Linked DNA regions of Homo sapiens: region 1 is linked to region 2. Evidence: promoter capture Hi-C in human tissues and cell types (Jung and others, 2019). All regions are on one chromosome and are shown on one strand. The core of a region is centred on a gene start or on the middle of the fragment in contact, and the rest is flanking DNA. Distances in the headings are between cores, read along the strand shown. Region 1 overlaps MYT1L (myelin transcription factor 1 like). Region 2 holds the start of DCDC2C (doublecortin domain containing 2C).

What was found. Contacts are between HindIII fragments. The study calls those that stand out against the background at their distance.
Region 1: a fragment that was not itself captured here is called in contact with the fragment with the promoter of DCDC2C in region 2 in 1 of the 25 tissues and cell types used here (IMR-90 fibroblasts).

What each region holds. Positions count from the first base shown.
Region 1 is chr2:2,062,453-2,065,725 of GRCh38, forward strand. All of the region lies in intron 3 of MYT1L (myelin transcription factor 1 like), which reads right to left. Among named protein-coding and RNA genes, the nearest start is that of MYT1L-AS1, 260 kb to the right of the region's middle. The HindIII fragment of the contact is 5,658 bases long and covers 1-3,273 here.
Region 2 is chr2:3,701,851-3,705,068 of GRCh38, forward strand. DCDC2C (doublecortin domain containing 2C) reads left to right here and starts at 1,725. Exons shown (of 11, transcript NM_001287444.2): 1 at 1,725-2,188. The coding sequence starts at 1,902. It overlaps ALLC (allantoicase), which reads left to right. Exons shown (of 12, transcript NM_018436.4): 12 at 513-821. The coding sequence ends at 713. It overlaps LOC105373393 (a long non-coding RNA gene), which reads right to left and starts at 1,650. Exons shown (of 3, transcript XR_922732.1): 1 at 1,609-1,650; 2 at 958-1,264; 3 at 710-789. The HindIII fragment of the contact is 5,865 bases long and covers 1-3,218 here.

The sequences.
Region 1 (3,273 bases), core at 18-2,517, 1.6 Mb before region 2:
TGTAATGATGCCCCTTGGCCATCACCCAGTCCCTGCCCCATCTCTTGTAATCTCTCTCCTTTTTGCTGCATCCCTGTCTTCCTCTGTCTTGATTTACTTGTTGTTGGTTTTCTGTTTCTTTGTTTGATTTGGTGGAAGACATAATCCCACGCTTCCTATGGAAAGGTTGTTGGGAGATTTTTAATGATTCCTCAATGTTAAAATGTCTATTTTTGTCTTGACACCCAACTAATATTTGTCTGAGCAAAACAGTCTAGATGAGAGAGAACTTCCCTGGAGGTCTGATGGCGTTTCTCCCTCGTCTTCTTACCTCTTGAGGATTCTTTGAATCCTTTCCCCTAGACCCTCATGCCCAGAGTCGTCATAATTTTCTCTTTGCTTCTAGTGTTTTAGTATTTCCCAAGAATGAGGGGGTGTGTAGATCTGTTTTCTCCCATCATGTGACATATCCTTCAGCTTTTCAAGGGCCATCGTCTTCCCTGCTTTCTTCAGTGGTTGTTTTCTCTCCATTTTCTCTGATCTCTTTCTGGAACTTACACGATTCAGCCAATGGTCCTGCGGGAGCTGGACAGACCCTCCAATCTTATTTTCCATCCCTTTGCCATTTTGTTCTAATCAGATTTCCTTTATCTTCTCACCTCTCTTGTGAGATTTTTTAAATTTAAATTTCAACACTCATCTTTAAATTTCTAAGTGATCTCTTAGTGATTCAACTCATCTTCTCCTTCTTCTACTTAAAATAAATGTGTTCTCATTCAGCAAACCCAATGTAGCTTCTCTTCTGTGACTCAGACAAAGTCAATGATAACTTCTTTGTTTCTCTTCAACAGTCTTTATTTTCTTCTTTTTTGTTTGTTTGGGTCCTTTTTATATTACAGGGCTTGCACGAACATCTAGAGATCTTCATTATCTGTTCATATTTAACAAGACAGCATTAGAAAGCCTCCTGGAAACCCTTTTCACATGGGCGGGGCCTTCTGACCTGTCGGGGGTCTTTGTGTGCTTTGCCTCCTGGGCTCCTGACTAGGGGTGCCTGTGCCCCCAGAGCATACAGCCAAGAACTGGATTCTGAGCCAGATGACATGAACTTGGATTAAAAAAAAGAACATGGCCAGGCGCAGCGGCTCACGCCTGTAATCCCAGAACTTTGGGAGGCCAAGGTGGGTGGATCACCTGCGGTCGGGAGTTTGAGACCAGCTTGGCCAACATGATGAAACCCTGTCTCTACTAAAAATATAAAAATTAGCTGGGAGTGATGACACGTGCCTGTAATCCCAGCTACTCGGTATGCTGAGGGAGGAGAATCGCTTGAACCTGGGAGGTAGAGGTTACAGTGAGCTGAGATTGCACCATTGCACTCCAGCCTGGGTGACAAGAGTGAAACTCTGTCTCAAAAAAAACAAAACAAACAACATAAAAACCACGTTTCCTTGATAATTCCTAACATATCTCTACAGGTCTCCTTGCTTGAGGCTGTCTACACTAAAGATGTTAACACTAGATATTCATGCCATGAGATCGGACACATAAGAATCTCTAGAAATTTAATGTAGAGAGCCTTGAACAAAAGGTTGTTTAATACCCATTATTTAAAACTAAGCTCTTTAGACACACAGGTCAGTTTGTATGTGATATCTGTATTCTTTAAGTATTGACAGCAGAACTGAGGAGGGGAGAAGCCCAGAGAAAGGGGCTATAGAAAATGGCAAGTGTGAAACCACATACGATGGGCAGACTTCACATTATTCCTCTTCACTCCCAGAAGCCACTTGGGGCAAACACGAGGTCAGTGCCTAGACCTGGTTGAGTTGGAGCCAGCTCAAGACCTAGCTTCAGACCCCCTGAGTACCTTGCTTGGGAGACTGTGTCCTAACAGCAGGTGAAATGGAGTCCACACCATCACAGTAAGGTTTGATGATTTCCAGTTGTTAACAGGATAGAAGTTGTCCAGGAGAACATGGGGAAGTGAAGTTTTCAAGATCAGGTGGAGGGAAGGACTCTGACATCCTGAAATGTAGATACGGTGTAGGTTTCCCAGGATGAACACATCAAGGACATAATTATCATGACCTCCCTGAGGGAGACTGAAAGTATCTGTGTACAGAGAGGAGACTTTAAGATATTGCTCAGGGAGTTTTTTGTGAGTTTTTTCAGTGCAATAATCTATACAATTCTGAATTAGAAACAATATAAGTTATTGACAATCTTCAACTGTTTAGATGAAATCACTGAGAATATTATGAAACATATAACATATCTAATAGAATTAATGTAGAAAAAGACAGATATTTCTATTTTAGTGAAATAAAAATACATTTCAGAAAAGCTTGTTGGAAAGTAAAATTTTCAATGAAATAACTTTTCCTCATTTATTTTCATTATGAAATATGAAACGATTCCTGATTAAAGTATTTTGGTGTTTAGATGTAATAAAGTCAAAATTAAGAAATGAGTGTATGACCAGGTACAGTGACTCTTGTGCCTGCCTGAAATCCCAGCACTTTGAGAGGCTAAGTTGGGAAGATCACTTGAGACCAAGAGTTGGAGACCAGCCTGGGAAACATAGGGAGAGGCCATCTCTAGAAAAATAAAAATGGTAGCCAGTCTTGGTGGCACACGCCTGTGGTCCCAGCTACTTAAGACACTGAGGTAGAAGCATAACTTGGGCCCGGAAGATTGAGGCTGCCGTGAGCCATGATAGTGCCACTGCACTCCAGCCTGGGCTACAGGGCAAGATCCTGTTTCAAAAAAAGAAAACAAACAAAAAAATCAAATGTACTTCTAAAACCTCATCACATTATAGTAGTATAGTTATAGCTACACTATTCAAATCAAAGATTAAAAAAATTTTAAAATAATTATAATACCCCAAATTAATGGCTACAAAGTCACAAATATATTCAAAGTTAGAATTTATAGCAATATAAAAACCTTGACAGCACATCTCCTCTGTTACCTTGCTGTATGCATTAATCCTTTCAAAGAGGCAGTCCTTCCCAAAGCAATTGCACTTTGATTAAATTGATCAGCTGCCTCAAACTCCTCATCATTTTAAACTCTTCATCCCGAGTAGCCATTTTAATCACCCTCCCCTAACCTGAAATTACCAGCCTCAGTAACCCGGCATGGTTTCCTGTAAGATTCTACAAAGGGAGCACATGTCTACCCCGCACTTCTCAGTGAGCGTCTTGCTTCCTTGCAATGAGTTCGCACTCAGAACAGCAGTGTCTCCATGCTGCCTCCCATTCCAATATGATCATGTGCATTTTTCAC
Region 2 (3,218 bases), core at 475-2,974:
TTCAGAATACATACGTGGAAACATGTCTCTGCATCATGTTTAACTTTGTAGAAGGGGCGACTAGCACATTTAAAGCTCTAATGGCGTGTCCACCTGCAGGATGGATGCTCTGAGATATTCCACAAGTGTCTTCTTTGATTTAGAAAGAGGGTCAGGCTAGAGGTGAGAGCTGCTCCCATGTAAAGATAGGAAATAATCTCCGGGAGAGACCAAGATGGTCTCTTCCTTCATTTTCTTATCAATTTGCTTATGTATAATCAACTATTAGAAACAACTGATGGGCATTTAGGTTGCCCATCAATTGTTTATTGGGGCCTGCTTATTCATGTATTATTTGGGCATCCTATCCCTACTAGCAGATTTTCATGGAAAGCCCAATTATCATCAATTAATAACTTATTTTAAAGCCCCTTCGGTTAAGTCTAAGCCAAAGGTTTGCCCGGGCCGTGGGCTCATTCGGCCACACATGTCCTGTTAACAGACTAGGACCTCTGCATCTGCTTGCTTTTCAGTTGTCTCCCAACCAAAGTCATCTGTTCGATAGCCTGACCCTAGAGCTCCAAGATGTCATCACTCACGCCAGGCTCACCATCGTCCCCGACGGGGGAGTGAGCCGCCTTCGGCTCCGGGGCTTCCCCAGCTCCATCTGCCTCCTGAGGCCCCGGGAGAAGCCCATGTTGAAGTTCTCGGTGAGCTTCAAAGCAAACCCTTAACACACACAAAGCCCCGGTGTCGGACACACAGCAGTAATTTCCCAGTCATAGTCTTCTTTTCAAATGTTTTGAACACCTGGTGATTTAATAAAGTGGTCGTCTCACAAATTGATCTCTGTATTTAATGTTGCTATGAGGCATTTAGTAGCTTACATACTGGCTATGGCTGTGACTGGTGGTCTCTACGGAACTACTTTTTTTGAACATTATAAGATATTAATACTCATAATATCAATATCTGTACCTTCGGTGTGGACTTCCAGCCGTAACATGTAGCCTACTGACTGTCTAGAATCACTCAAGGGGACTGGCCTATCTTTACCCAGAGTAGGAACGATTCTTCCAAAGACCCCCTCTCCCTTTGAATCATTCCCCAATGAGGATGCGTTCTGAATGGCACGCGCCTGACACCGCACACCAGCGGCTATAGCGCGGTTCCTCACGGCCTCCCAGTGGCTCTGCACACCTCCTCCTCTGGTGGAAAAGCTCAAATTCCCCACTCTGGGCCAGGAGTCCTGGAAGACACTGGGGCTGAACCGGTCAAATTCAACCTAAGATCAAAGAAACAGAGGCTCAAAAAATGTGAAGCAGATCCCAGCACCCATCCAATGTTGATTGTCAAGATGGTCCTGGTCCCTCCCTAACCCTCCTCTCTACCGCTTCTACAGAGGAAGGCGGCGAGTGTAGGGGGAGGAGGCACGGTGGGCGTCCCGGGGCGCTCAGCACAATCATGCTAGCCGCCTCCTCCTCCTCTTTTCCTGAGCTCTGCCGCCACGCCCCTCACCTGCCCGGGCTCCCCGTTGCCCCCTCACCTGTCTCCGCCCTGTGCCGCGCCTCACCTGCTTGGGCTCCCCATTACCCAATCACCTGTCCCTGCCCCGTGCCGCCTGCTCACCTGCCCGGGTTCCCCGTCGCCCCGTCTCCTGCCCCGGCCCCGAGCCCCTCGCCCTGGCGGCCAGGCGGTCACAATCGCCCAGGGTCGCGTCAACACGCAGCCTCCGCCCGCCTGGCAGCCCCGTCCCGTCCCCGTCCAGCCCCCGTCCCGTCCCCGTCCCGTCCCCGTCCTGCGCCAGCGGCTGGAGCGGACCTCCCGTCGGCGGTGCCCGGGCCTGGGCGCGGCTCTGCAGGCGTCGCTGCCCGCGCTGCCGCAGCCTCTCGGCCCCGGCGAGCGAGGAGCGGGGCGCGGCTATGGGAACCCGCGGGCCCTCCGCGCCGGTGGACACCACGCCCGCCAAGACCATCGTGGTGTACCGCAACGGGGACCCGTTCTACGTGGGCAAGAAGTTCGTGCTGTCGCGGCGCCGCGCGGCCACCTTCGAGGCGCTGCTGGAGCAGCTCACGGAGCAGGTGGACGTCCCGTTCGGCGTGCGCCGCCTCTTCACGCCCACGCGTGGGCACCGGGTGCTGGGGCTGGACGCGCTGCAGGCGGGCGGCAAGTACGTGGCGGCGGGCCGCGAGCGCTTCAAGGAGCTCGAGTAAGTGCGCCCGCGCCCCCCACGCGCCCTGCGCCCCTCCCCGCCCTCTTGGGTCTGAGCGTGGTCAGGGCCGTGCCCCCCAGGTGTCCTCCCCAGGCTTCCCTCCCGGCTCGGGCGCCCATCTTTCGGCGTGGATCCAGCGCAGCCGGCGTCGGGCCGCCCCAGGCCACGTGGTTTCCTGGGGGCGAAGCCGAGGCAGCCCCGCCCCCAGGGTCCCTTCCTATGGGGCAGGGCGGGCCCTGGCCGGCAGCGATTCAGGACCGCCCCAGAGACGGCCAGGAGGGCGTGGGGGAGGGGCGTGGGGCAGAAACAGGGGTGTGGAGGAGGGCGTGGGGGAGGGGTGTGGAGAGGGGCGTGGGGGGCGTGGGGGAGGGGTGTGGAGAGGGGCGTGGGGGAGGGGTGTGGAGAGGGGCATGGGGGAGGGGTGTGGAGAGGGGCGTGGGGGGCGTGGGGAGGAGTGTAGGGGAGGGGGAGGGGGGAGGGGCGTGGGGGAGGGGCATGGGGCAGAAACGGGTGTGGAGGAGGGCATGGGGGAGGGGTGTGGAGAGGGGCGTGGGGGGCGTGGGGGAGGGGTGTGGAGAGGGGCGTGGGGGAGGGGTGTGGAGAGGGGCATGGGGGAGGGGTGTGGAGAGGGGCGTGGGGGGCGTGGGGAGGAGTGTAGGGGAGGGGGAGGGGGGAGGGGCGTGGGGGGGAGGGGCGTGGGGGGCAGGGCCTGGGAATGGGGCGGGTTGGGCAGTTCCCATTTGAAATCGCTCAGGGTGACCCCTCTCACTCTGTGTCCATCACTTGGTCCTGCGTGCATTTTCAAGCTTGCCTTTAATTAAACTATTGCCCTCCCACGGTTTGTGTCTGTAATCCCATTATTGCAGCCTGTGTCTGCTTTCTGTGATCTCAGCTGCTTTTCTCTCCTGATTCTCTGTTTCCTTGTAGGTTTACTTATTTTTTGACTGTGAACTACTCCTTTTGTATAGCTTTGTGTGGGGACATTCTTCAGGGCTGAGATAAAAGTGAGATTCCCCAGAGAGAATTT